Linked DNA regions of Homo sapiens: all the other regions are linked to region 3. The links are contacts of gene promoters, found by promoter capture Hi-C in human tissues and cell types (Jung and others, 2019). All regions are on one chromosome and are shown on one strand. Each heading gives the region's core, a stretch centred on a gene start or on the middle of the fragment in contact. The rest is flanking DNA. Distances are from core to core; before and after follow the strand shown.

Region 1 (4,349 bases), core at 129-2,628, 870 kb after region 3:
ATTAATAATTAAAATTAAGTGTTAAACTGTAATTTCAAATAAGAAGTTAGCAGTCTGTTAACTTTCAAGAACACATTTTAAAAATAGCTCAAGGAAGCCGTCAATTAGTGGACAGTTTGCCGTTCATGTTGTATGTGAGAAATCCCCTTGCACTTTTGGTAAGTATTCTTCTCACCCTCATTTTACACCACAGAGACCTTCTTGCATTATATCCTAACATGTGTTAAAATAAATATATGAGCAAAATTAAAAATTAGATCTTCAGTCTGGGCACAGTGCTTCATGCCCGTAATCCCAGCACTTTGGGAGGCTGAGGAGGATGGATCACCTGAGGTCAGGAGTTCAAGACCAGCCTGGCCAACATGGTGAAACCCCGTCTCTACTAAAAATGCAAAAATTAGCCAGGCGTGGTGGTACACATCTGCAGTCCCAGGCACTTGGGAGGCTGAGGCAGAATTGCTTGAATGCAGGAGGCAGAGGTTGCATTGAGCCGAGATCGTGCCACTGTACTCCAGCCTAGGCGACAGAGAGACACTCTGTCTCAAAAAAAAAAAAAAAAGAAAGAAAAAGAAAAAGAAAAAGAAATTAGATTTTCAAAATCATTATTTTCTTTTTTTAAACTGTAGTTGCTAATAGAAAAAGATGCTCAAGATTGAACTTTTGATATCATAATAGGTTCCAGAGACTTTGGTAGTTCAAGAGAGCTGGATTTGGATGCAATCTAGACCACTTTGGGTGAATCTGATCACAATTGCCTGTTGCTTAGATTCTCCCCTGGCTTCACATTACTTTCTGGGTAAAGATCCAAGTCTTTCAAACAACTTCAAGGTCCTACTCTGGTCTGGCTGTTTTCCCTCACCAGACTCCTGTTACACCAGTTCTCTTCTCTTCTCTTTTCTTTCTGTTTTTACACACTCTCTTGCTTTCTACCCTGCAGTTATGAAGGCTACTTTTTAGTTGCTCAGAAGCACCTCTCTCCTGCAACAGGGCCTTATTACATGCTATTCCCTGATGCACTTTTCTTATTAACCTTATTTGCTTTATTAACTCTTATTTATCTTTCTCTTTTCATTCTCTTTCTTTCTTTTTTTTTAGACGCGTCTTGCTATGTCACCCAGGCCGGAATGCAGTAGTCCTATCCTGGCTCACTGCAGCCTTGAACTTCTGGGCTCAAGCAGTCCTCCTAATTCAGACTCCTGAATAGCTGAGACCACAGGCATGCACCACCGCCATGCCTGGCTAATTAACTTTTTTTTTTTTGTAGAGACAGTTCTCACAATGTTGCCCACGATGGCCTACTTATCTTTCAAATCTCTGTTGTCATATTCTCAGGAAAGCTTTTTCTGACTTCTCTGACTAGGTGAAATCCCACCTTTTTTTCTCATGACCTTCTCCGGTGCAACTATACATGTAATTGTGATTGTTTCATTAATAACTGTCTCTTTCACTGTATTTTAAGGTCCATGAGGGCTGGAATCCAAGTCTGGTTTTGCCCACCATTGTATTTCCAGAACCGAAGGGCCTAATACATACAGGGAGCTCAAACATTAGTTTTCAATAGGATGAATGAGCCAGGCGCGGTGGCTCACGCCTGTAATCCCAGCACTTTGGGAGGCCGAGGCGGGCGAATCACGAGGTCAGGAGATTGAGACCATCCTGGCTAACATGGTGAAACCCCGTCTCTACTAAAAATACAAAAAATTATCTGGGCGTGGTGGCAGGCGCCTGTAGTCCCAGCTACTCTGGAGGCTGAGGCAGGAGAATAGCATGCACCTGGGAGGCGGAACTTGCAGTGAGCTGAGATCGCGCCACTGCACTCCAGCCTGGGGACAGAGCGAGACTCCGTCTCAAAAAAAAAAAAAAAAAAAAAAAAAAAGGATGAATGAATAAATGACTGAAATAATTAACCTTAGTCCCCACCTGTAAAAGAGGGGCATGGGGTCACTTGGAAGATTGGATGACATAAAGTATCTACCCAGCCTAGCATGTGGGAAGTTCTCAATAAGTAGCTGCAATAACTTCAGTTAAATGGGGCTTGATAGTTTATTTAGTAAAATTAGCTGTTTTGCTTCCATCCTTTCAAAAAGCTTTAAACTTAGTAGAATTTGATTTATTTTATGTTTGCATAAACACAGGAATAATAATTTAGAGATTTAGAATAAGTTTTAACTGTATTTAGCTATATTTACCTAGTAATAGACAGTGTTTCTTACATTAAATCTTAACCATACATTGACTTTTCTTTCATGTATGACTTCTTCAAAGTACATAAAACATTTTAGGGAAGAAGGGACCTGTTTAGCCGATATGGTTGTTTCTAACTAGAATATCTACTCATTGAATTATTTGTTCAGGAAATCTGGAGGCTTGAGAATGTAAATTCCCTCTTATTTGAGGGAACATTTAGGATATTATCCAACATTTAGGCTCTTATCCAACACTGGATTGAAGTATATATTTTTGGAATGTAGCCCTGTATCTGAAATGGTTTAGAAGCTCCATCCCCCATTAGGAGGAACAGGTACATTCACCTATAATAAATTATGTAATGGCATAGGTATTTGTTGTACAGTAGAATGCAGTGGTATTTCACTGTTTTGAATTCTTTAGGCTACTATGATCCTGTAAATGTGAATTTGTATAGGAGTTAGAATAAAAATCACTGGCCGGGTGTGGTGGCTCACACTTGTAATCCCAGCACTAATTTTAAATGGTTTATTAGGAAGCTAAAATTCTCTACATATATACTGAGGGTGTGAGTGAAAAAGACTCTTAGGTTTGTAGCAAGTACAATAACCTTACAATGGAATTCAGTTCTAGGCAGAAGATGAAATACTTGAGTTCCAAGAAAGAGTCCTATAAGTCTGAGACATCATCACGGCATTTCAACACCAGGCAGGGCCAGGGATTGTGGCAGTAGACAAACGATTCTGTTTTTTTTTTTTAATTATTCTTTTTTATTATACCTTAAGTTCTGGGAGACATGTGCAGAACGTGCAGGTTTTTACATAGGTGTACATGTGCCATGGTGGTTAGCTGCACCCATCAACCCATCATCTAGGTTTTAAGCCCTGCATGCATTACATATTTGTCCTGATGCTCTCCCTCCCCTTGTCCCCCATCCCCCGACAGGCCCCGGTGTGGTGTTCCCCTCCCTGTGTCCATGTGTTCTCATTGTTCAACTCCAACTTATGATTGAGAATATGTGGTGTTTGGTTTTCTGTTCCTGTGTTAGTTTGCTGAGAATGATGATTTCCAGATTGATCCATGTGCCTGCAAAGGACATGAACTCATTCTTTTTTATGGCTGCATAGTATTCCGTGGTGTATATGTGCCACATTTTCTTTATCCAGTCTATCATTGCTGGGCATTTGGGTTGGTTCCAAGTCTTTGCTGTTGTAAATAGTGCTACAATAAACATACCTGTGCATGTGTCTTTATAGTAGAATGATTTATAATCCTTTGGGTATATACCCAGTAATGGGATTCCTGGGTCAAATGGTATTTCTGGTTCCAGATCCTTGAGGAATCACCACACTGTCTTCCACAATGGTTGAACTAATTTACACTCCCACCAAGAGTGTAAAAGTATTCCTATTTCCCCACATCCTCTCCAGCATCTGTTGTTTCCTGACTTTTTAATGATCTCCATTCTAACTGTTGTGAGATAGTATCTCATTGTGGTTTTGATCTGCATTTCTCTAATGACCAGTGATGATGAGCTTTTTTTCATATGTTTGTTGGCTGCATAAATGTCTTCTTTTGAGAAGTGTCTGTTCATATCCTTCCCCCACTTTTTGATAGGGCTGTTTTTCTTTCTTGTAACTTTACTTAAGTTCCTTGTAGATTCTGGGTATGATGTCAGATGGATGGATTGAAGAAATTTTCTCCTATTCTGTAGGTTGCCTGTTCACTTTGATGATAGTTTCTCTTGCTGTGCAGAAGCTCTTTAGATTAATTAGATCCCATTAGTTGATTTTGGCTTTTGTTTCCATTGCTTTTGGTGTTTTAGTCATGAAGTCTTTGCCCATGCCTATGTCCTGAATGGTATTGCCAGGGTTTCTTTCCAGGGTTTTTATGGTTTTAGGTTTTACGTTTAAGTCTTTAATCCACCTTGAGTTAATTTTTGTATGAGGTGTAAGGAAGGGGTCCAGTTTCAGTTTTCTGCATATGGCTAGCCAGTTTTCCCAACACCATTAATTAAATAGGGAATCCTTTCCCCATTGCTTGTTTTTGTCAGGTTAGACCAACAACTCTTTTCATGTATTTGGCATTCATTTCCCAAGAACTTCATACAATTGATAAAATAAGTTTTTTTCCTCCATCTTCATAACTACTTTTCAAGTTAT
Region 2 (4,054 bases), core at 1,450-3,949, 670 kb after region 3:
TTTATTTTGATTTTTTAAACTTATTTTTTTAATTGACAAATAAAAAAATGTATACAGTTATGGTGTAAAACATGTTTTGGTAAATGTATGCATTATGAATGACCAAATCAAGCTATTTAACATATGCATTGCCTTACAAACTTTTTTTTAAATTTTTTTTTTTTTTTTTTTTTTTTGAGATGGAGTATCACTCTGTTGCCCAGGCTGGAGTGCAGTGGCGCAGTCTCAGCTCACTGCAAACTCCACCTCCCAGGTTCACACCATTCTCCTGCCTCAGCCTCCCAAGTAGCTGGGACTACAGGCACCCACCACCATGCCCAGCTAATTTGTTGTATTTTTAGTAGAGATGGGGTTTCACTGTGTTAGCCAGGATGGTCTCGATTTGCTGACCTCATGATCCGCCCGCCTCAGCCTCCCAAAGTGCTGGGATTATAGGTGTGAGCCACCGTGCCCAGCTCCTACAAACTTATTTTTTGTGTATAGTGAGAACACTGAAAATCTGCTCTCTTAGCAATTTTCAATTATACCATGTATCGTAATTGACTATAGCCACCACGACATATGTATTAGTCTGTTTTCATGCTGCTATAAAGAAATATCTGAGACTGGGTAATTTATAAAGAAAAGAGGTTTAACTGACTCACAGTTCCACATAGCTGGAGAGGCCTCAGGAAACTTACAGTCATGGCAGAAGGTGAAGAGGAAGCAAGGACCTTCTTCAAATAGTGGCAGGAGAGAGTAGAATGAAGGAGCAGGGAAAACTGCCTTATAAAACCATCGGATCCTGTGAGAACTCACTCACTAGTACTAGAATAGCATGGGGGAAACCGCCCTCATGATCCAGTCACCTCCTACACTTGACACAGGGGGATTACAGATCCCTCCCTTGACACATGGGGATTACAGTTTGAGATGAGATTTGGGTGGGGACACAGAGCCAAACCATATCAACATATACTCGATCTCTTGAAATTATTCCACCTAACTAAATTTTGTGTCTTTCAACCAACATCCCTCTTCCTCCCAACCCGCAGCCTCTGGTAACTGCCTTCTACTTCTGTTCCTATAAGTTTGACTTTTGTATATTACACATACAGCTATAAGTGAGATGAGGCAGAATTTATCTTTCTGCGACTCCAGAGATTAAATGACTGTGCTACCACTCTGCTGATTCCTACCTCTAATCTCATGTATTGTGATGTCCCTTTTCTTTTTCCCTCCACTAAACTATACACTCTTTTGAGGACAGAGACCAAGTCTTCTTCTTCATTAAACAGCCAGGCCAGAACAATGCTTCAAAAACCTATTAGACATTTAATCATGGTTGAACAGACACATGGCTTTGTCTAAACTATCTGAGCATATGTGCAGGCATACCTGGTTTTATTGCACTTCACAGATATTTTTTTACAAATGAGGATTGGTGGCAGTCCTGGATTGAGCAAGTGTATTGATGCCATTTTTCCACATGCACATGTTCACCTTGTGTCTCTGCCTCACATTTTGGTAAGTCGCACAATATTCCCAATGTTGTCATTATTTTTATATCTGTTACGGTAATCTGTGATCAGTGATGTTTGGTGTTACTGTTGTAATTGTTTTGGGGTGTCATGACTCATACCCATAGAAGATGGCAAGCTTAATCGATAAATGTGTGTGTGCTGACTATTCCACCAAGTAGGCATTTCCTCATCTCTCTCCCTCTGCTTGGGCCTCCCTAATCCCTGAAACAACAACAATATTAAAATCAGTCCAATTAATAACCCTTAATGACCTCTAAGTGTTCAAGTGAAAGGAAGAGTTGTGCATTTCTCAGCTTAAATCAAAAGCTAGAAATGATTAAGCTTAGTGAGGAAGGCATGTCGAAAGCTGAGCTACATTGAAAGCTAGCGCTCTTGCACCAAACAGTTAGCCAAGTTGTGAAGCCAAAGGCAAAGTTCTTGAAGGAAATTAAAAGTTCTACTCCAGTGAACACATTAAAGATAAGAGAGTGAAATAGTCTTATTGCTGACAGAGGTTGAGCATCTCAAATCCAAACATTCAAAATGTGAAATGTTCTAAAATCTGAAAATTTTTGAGTGCCAACATGATGCTCAAAGGAAGTGCTCACTGGAGCATTTGAGATCTCAGATTTTTGAATTTGGGATGTTCAACCAATAAGTATGATGCAAATATTCCAAAATCTGAAAAACTCTGAAATCCAAAATACTTCTGATCCCATGGATTCCAAATAAGGGATACTCAACTTGTATGGAGAAAATTATAGTGGTCTGCATAGATGAAAGGAGCCACAACATCCCTTAAGTCAAAGCCTACTCCAGAGCAAGGCCCTAATTCTCTTCAATTCAAAGCTGACAAAGAAGCTGCAGCAAGTTACCCAACAGATCTAGCTAAGATCATTGATTAAGGTGGCTACACTAAACAACAGATTTTCAATGAAGATGAAGCAGCCTTATATTGGTAAAGATGCCATCTAGGACTTTGTAGCTAGAGAGGAGAAGACAATGGCTGACTTCAAAGCTTCAAAGGTCAGACCAATTTTCTTGTTAGGGGCTAATACAGCTAGTGACTTTAAGTTGAAGCCAATGCTCATTTAATATTCTGAAAATCCTAGGACCCTTAAGAACTACACTACCTCTACTCTGTGCTTTATAAATGGAATAACAAAACCTGAATGATAGCACATCTATTTACATATAAAACAAAGTATTCATTCTATGATATAATTGAAATACATTTGGAGTTCCTATCTGAAAACATTCTACTAAGCACTACAAAAGACAGAGAGAGAAGTAAATACGTAGGCAAGCATAGGCTCTATTGAGGTTAGAATTAAAATGACTATTGTATAAGAAATGAAAATGTTTACATAAGTCACCATAAGTCCATTAAAACAAAATAATGTTTTAAAGGAAGGGATTTGAAAAAAAAATCCAAAACTAAACCAAATGCTATAGAGAGTAAAAGGAAGGGTGGATTATAAATGATTGAGGGAATGTGGCAAGGCTCCATAGAGGAGGTGGTTTGGGTTGGCCTTAAAGGATAGTTAGTTAGAAGGTTTTTTCTTTTTTTTTTTTTTTTTTTCAATGTCCATAGGTTTCTATTCTCACCATCTTTCTGTTACAGGCGACAGGAATTTCAGAGAACTTTTCTAATCACAAGCTCTCCAGAGTCCATCTGCAATGCCATGTATTCACTAGACCCGATCCAGATCCTATTAAAACTCAGCATACTGCTTAGTATGCTGAGAAGAAAGCGCTCATCAGTTTGATGCAAACTTCTCAGATTGGGCAGCTACAATTAGAGTAAATACAACTGTTGTATCCTAGAGACCAAGGCCAGCTCCCTATGACTTTCCCTTGGTGTTGCCACAACTGCCAAATAGGGATGATTACAAATCTTGTTCCTTTCCACAAAAGGGCTCTTATGAACTGTAATGATAAAATATTGACAAAACACTTTTGAATTTGTGGTTAAGATATTCCTGGAATATCTCAATGAACGCAGAGTTTTGGGTTTAAAGATCAAAGAATGAGGTCTAATAAATGATGTATTTCAGTTTAAGGCTTAAATTATATCTTTCAGCCTCCACGATTCCTGGAATTATTCTTTGTATTCAGTTTTCTGCTAACAACTATTTGTGTGGTAGTTTTTTGAGAAACCATATTACTGGATTCTTAAATATCTTGTAAACTGCTCTCTATCTGCTAGTAAAGTTCTTCAGTGGTGATTGGATTAGATCTGTCTGAATATTTAATATCAGCAATACCCTTCATCGGTGGTAGTGAAATGCAAGGCAGGAGAAAAAATCCCTCTCACTGACTGTACAACTAAGCCTTCTGCCTGGTACCAACTGCACCAGTGAAACAGAAACTCAACAAATGCTTGGTAATCTTCATCTTTCTGTAATATCAACGAATATATCTTAAAACTTAGATAATTCGTATATGGTTTCTTTCACCCAAATAGCCATCAGAGAACTACAGGCATAACACAGAGATATTCAAAGTTTCTTTCCAGTCCACTAAAATAAAGCAGATATTACATTAAAGCA
Region 3 (4,262 bases), core at 1,133-3,632:
GTGGGATTTAAAGAAGTCAGATTGGCTCTTTGTGATACATTGCTATCTTTTTATGTCTTCTGCACGTTTCACAGTAGTGGTGGCTAGGAAGAGGAAAGAGACAAGGACTCTTCTTTATTAGGTGCATTATGCTTAATATAGTGCTTAATATGGTGGAGGCTCTGATGTCTGTCATCACCTACTAGTGATTTGGCATTAGCCAAGTTCATGAAACTCCTTGTGCCTTATTTTCCCCCCTCATCTGTTAACCAAGGAGTGCAACTGTGCCTATATCATGAAGTTCTGGTGAGGCTAAAATAATAGATGTATAGTACTGGCTTAGAAAGGGCTCTATACTAGTAAGCTGTTGTTCTACTTCTCCTTCCCCTCTTTCTCTTCCTCATTACAAATACGCTTTCCTGCTGAATTTGTTACTCCACTAGATTAGCAAAATGTTCAGAGAATCTGGGAGGAGGGTAAAATAGAAAGAATCTGTTACTCTATCAGGATTCAAGATGTCTGCTTTTGGTCAGATCTTTGATTTTTACTTTTATGTTCTCAGTGCTGCATTGGGTGTAAGAAATGGTCTCTGCCCTGAGCAGCCATCTATTTGAGAAACAGATGAACACATGAATGATTAATGAAAACACATATGCATATAAAATTAAGTTCTAAATAAATCTTATAGATCGTAAGTGATATAAGGATCTAATTTCAGTTTGCTGATACTGGCTGTTGTTTTGGTCATCGAGAGGCAATACCATTTGGAGTGAAATTGTGAGAGTGAGCGTTTGTACCAGTAATACCAATAAAATGGCATATGTTTATTGGCTTAGAAACTAAAATACATTAAGATCAAAACAAGGCAAGTTTAACAATATTTAAGTATGAGATATCACTGCCTCTTATTGTTAGCACAGTAATGCTTTATGCTATTAGACATGTCAAAACGGCACAAATAGGAAGAGTTGATGAATGCTTTAAAAAGAACTATGAGGAAGGCTTACATTTTTTAGTTGTCAATCTCTCAAAGAGTTTCTGTTTTTATTCTATCTTGCTATTTTAACCAGTTGATTAGGCTCACCCAGTGGCAGTCTTCATTTCAAGGATCTCCTCTGGACATTCATGAAGGAAATAAATGGGGCTCCAGATCCCTTTCCTTCCCTTCAGGGCGCTCCACTGTAAGATCATTTAGGGAAAATGTGGTGTTATGTTAAAAACATAGCTGGGCCACATCAAGCAGCATCATAGTTTTTAGGGTATAGAACGTTGGTCTTCAGGTTAAAAGGTACTTTTCGCTGCTCTGTCATACTCTTCTACTTGCTAGAGAAATATGCTTTATGCCGTGTCATGTGTGGTTAACCAGACAGTGAGATACTACTAACAGTGCTCCCAAGTGATTCCTTGCTGTTAAATCAATTGGAATTATTGAGTATTACCACAAAATAATCCTATCTGATTTCATTACTTTCTTCTAACGTCCTTCCAGTAACCTAGAACTCTAGAGACCTCTTTCTTTGAGAGTTGTCTGGAGAGTCCGTTGGATTTTTAAATCTCTTATTACCAAAAAGTGGAAAAAAGAGTTTAAAAAGTAACCAAAGAGCTAGTGCCTGTAGTCTCAGCTACTCCAGAGGCTGAGGCAGGTGGATAGCTTGGGCCGAGGAGTTCGAGGCTACAGTGAGCCATGACTGCGCCTGCTAACAGCCACTGCACTCCAGTCTGGGCAATATAGTGAGACCCCATCTCTAAAAAAACAACAAACAAAAACAAAAATTACCCCACAGAAGAATTTCAGGGCAGTGGAAATACTCTGTAGGATACTATAATGATGGATACCTGCCATTACACATTTGTTCTAACTCGAGGAGTATACAACAACCTGAGTGAACCCTGAGGTAACTATGGACTTTGAGTGATGATGAGGTGTCAATGCAGGTTCATCAGTCGTAACACATGTACCACTCTGAGGGGGGATGTTGATAATGGTGGGGGGTTATGCATGCGTAGGAGCCAAGTGTATATGGGATATCTCTGTAACTTCTCAATTTTTCTGTAAACTCTAACTACTCTATATTAGTCTTTAAAAAATCGCTTATCTTACGAATGATTTTGAATAAGCGTTTTGGGAATGTTCTAGAGATGAATCTCCTCCCCATGTCCTACGCTGGGTGAGGAAGTGTCGGGTACCCGGGCGACCTGTCCTCAGGTGTTCTAGGAACGCGGCCCCATCCCTTGTCAGCCTCTGTCTCTGTGTGGTGAGAAGGCGCACTGGCTCGTGCCTGCGCGAAACTCGCGCACACAGAAAAGACCAATCAAGGACGGGTCATTCCCGCCCCCCGCGCGCCTTTTGCGACCGCCCACTCGACAGGTTGACAACCTAGACAGCTCCCCCGGACTTGCCTTACTTTTCCATCTCCTCCCACCCAGCTATACCCTCCCACTGGCGGCGCGGATGGCACGCCGGCGGAGCCAGCGAGTCTGCGCGAGCGGTCCGAGCATGCTCAATAGCGCGCGCGGCGCCCCGGAGCTTCTCCGCGGAACCGCGACCAACGCGGAGGTCTCGGCGGCCGCTGCGGGAGCCACAGGAAGTGAAGAGCTTCCGCCGGGAGACCGCGGCTGCAGGAACGGAGGCGGAAGGGGCCCTGCGGCGACGACGTCGTCGACGGGGGTGGCCGTGGGAGCTGAGCACGGAGAAGACTCCCTCTCTCGGAAGCCGGATCCCGAGCCGGGCAGGATGGATCACCACCAGCCGGGGACTGGGCGCTACCAGGTGGTGAGTTCCCGGCCTCCTGTGCCTCCCGGGACTGCCTCCCGCCGCGGCGTCCCGAGAGTCCCTTTCCTCAGGTTATTCCCGGAGGAAAAGCTGTGGCTTTTTTTTGTTGTGTTTTGTTTTGTTTTTTTGGATCTTCTGGCTGGAGCTGCTTCACTCGCCTCACCTGCGCACTCCTGCCTAGGACTCCTTCGAAACCCTTCTCTCTCGCCCCAAGTCTGCTTAGCTCCTCACCCGCACCCTTAGCCCCGCTGTGAGACGCCCTCCCTCCACACACCTTACAACTTGTATCCGTTTTAATTTCTCACTTTATCATTTTCTTATTCTCTGACTCAGTCACTCCTGAGACATTCTAGTCGATTGTCTACTGGAAATGGGGCTGACTTCACATACCTGCCCGGAAGGTGATCGCCGTCATAAATGGGGTGGGTGAGTAGGTGGGTGGAGGTGTAAGTACTGCGTGGGGTGGGATGTGGATTTGGCAAAAATGTGGGTTAGGAATTGTGGAACTGTAGAGAAAGACTAGCCATAATGCTGATCTTGTCTCTCTGCTCGTTAACCTTGTCATTTTGTCCTTTTCCATTATGTTAGTATTAAAAATGACTGTATTTTTTGGTAATCCCCACTTTTTCTTTCTTTCTTTCTTTCTTTTTTTTTTTTTTTTTTTTTTTTTTGGTTAGAGGGGAAACAGAGGTAGTTTTAGTAGAACAAATTCTAATCTTGTTTGAAAAATTATTTTTCGTTAAATACAAGGTTTTCCAGCTTAACTGTGTAAACTTTGGTAACTATGTTGAAAAAAGTGAAATGTGTTCCTCTATATTTTCAGTGTCAATTTTTAAATATATTTTTCTTTGTGTATTCTGGTGGTGACGTTGGAGATTCCTGTTGTAAACCTTAGTTAAAGATGGACTGAGCAATAGTTGACTCTGCTGTTGTGCTGTTGCAGCTAGGTAGCATGTCATTCTACAAACTTTCAGCCCATTTACTGAGGGAGAGGAGAAAAACAATACATAGCACTGGTGATGCAGTTTATGGTTTATAAAATTTTACAAATTTAGGTATGTTAGTCCCAGGTTTCAACTTTCAAATCTATTTGCACATGTAAGACAGGTTATAAGCCAAGACTTTCTATTAATAAGTACATTTTGGCAAATATGAAGGAACTGTAAGATGAGATCCTAAAGTATGTAATTTTGCATTTTTCTAAGATAAAAGCTCATGAGGCTTCCATTTTCAATTGGTTTGCATTCCTTAAAACCTACAAAAGGTCCATATTCCGAATTCTTTGAAAATTTATCAGCTTTTCTCAACAACTTGGGAAATACTGTTTCTCCCAGTATGGAAAGCGTTTTTCAAGTTGTCAGTGTACACCCTTTTGATGGTTTGAAAGGCATTTCTAGGTTTGTAAATGTTAGCAAAAATAAAATGATATAAATATTGAATAATATCAGCAGTGAAACTTGTTTCATTTTTCCTACAGACGTCACTACCCAAAACACTGTTAATTTATGTA

The links. The method cuts DNA at HindIII sites, captures the fragments that hold promoters and counts their contacts. A contact is called where the count stands out against the background at its distance.
Region 1: a fragment that was not itself captured here is called in contact with the fragment with the promoter of NDFIP2 in region 3 in 1 of the 25 tissues and cell types used here (dorsolateral prefrontal cortex).
Region 2: a fragment that was not itself captured here is called in contact with the fragment with the promoter of NDFIP2 in region 3 in 1 of the 25 tissues and cell types used here (mesendoderm cells).

Annotation. Positions count from the first base shown.
Region 1 is chr13:80,347,727-80,352,075 of GRCh38, forward strand. No RefSeq gene overlaps it. Among named protein-coding and RNA genes, the nearest start is that of SPRY2, 8.8 kb to the left of the region's middle. The HindIII fragment of the contact is 4,436 bases long and covers 1-3,596 here.
Region 2 is chr13:80,146,620-80,150,673 of GRCh38, forward strand. The region is part of intron 2 of LOC105370275 (a long non-coding RNA gene); the gene reads right to left. Among named protein-coding and RNA genes, the nearest start is that of LINC01080, 140 kb to the left of the region's middle. RefSeq lists a silencer at 898-1,001. The HindIII fragment of the contact is 4,552 bases long and covers 424-4,054 here.
Region 3 is chr13:79,478,773-79,483,034 of GRCh38, forward strand. It overlaps NDFIP2 (Nedd4 family interacting protein 2), which reads left to right and starts at 2,383. Exons shown (of 8, transcript NM_019080.3): 1 at 2,383-2,752. The coding sequence starts at 2,432. It overlaps NDFIP2-AS1 (NDFIP2 antisense RNA 1), which reads right to left and starts at 2,459. Exons shown (of 3, transcript NR_046685.1): 1 at 2,380-2,459; 2 at 1,064-1,158. The HindIII fragment of the contact is 15,126 bases long and covers 1-4,262 here.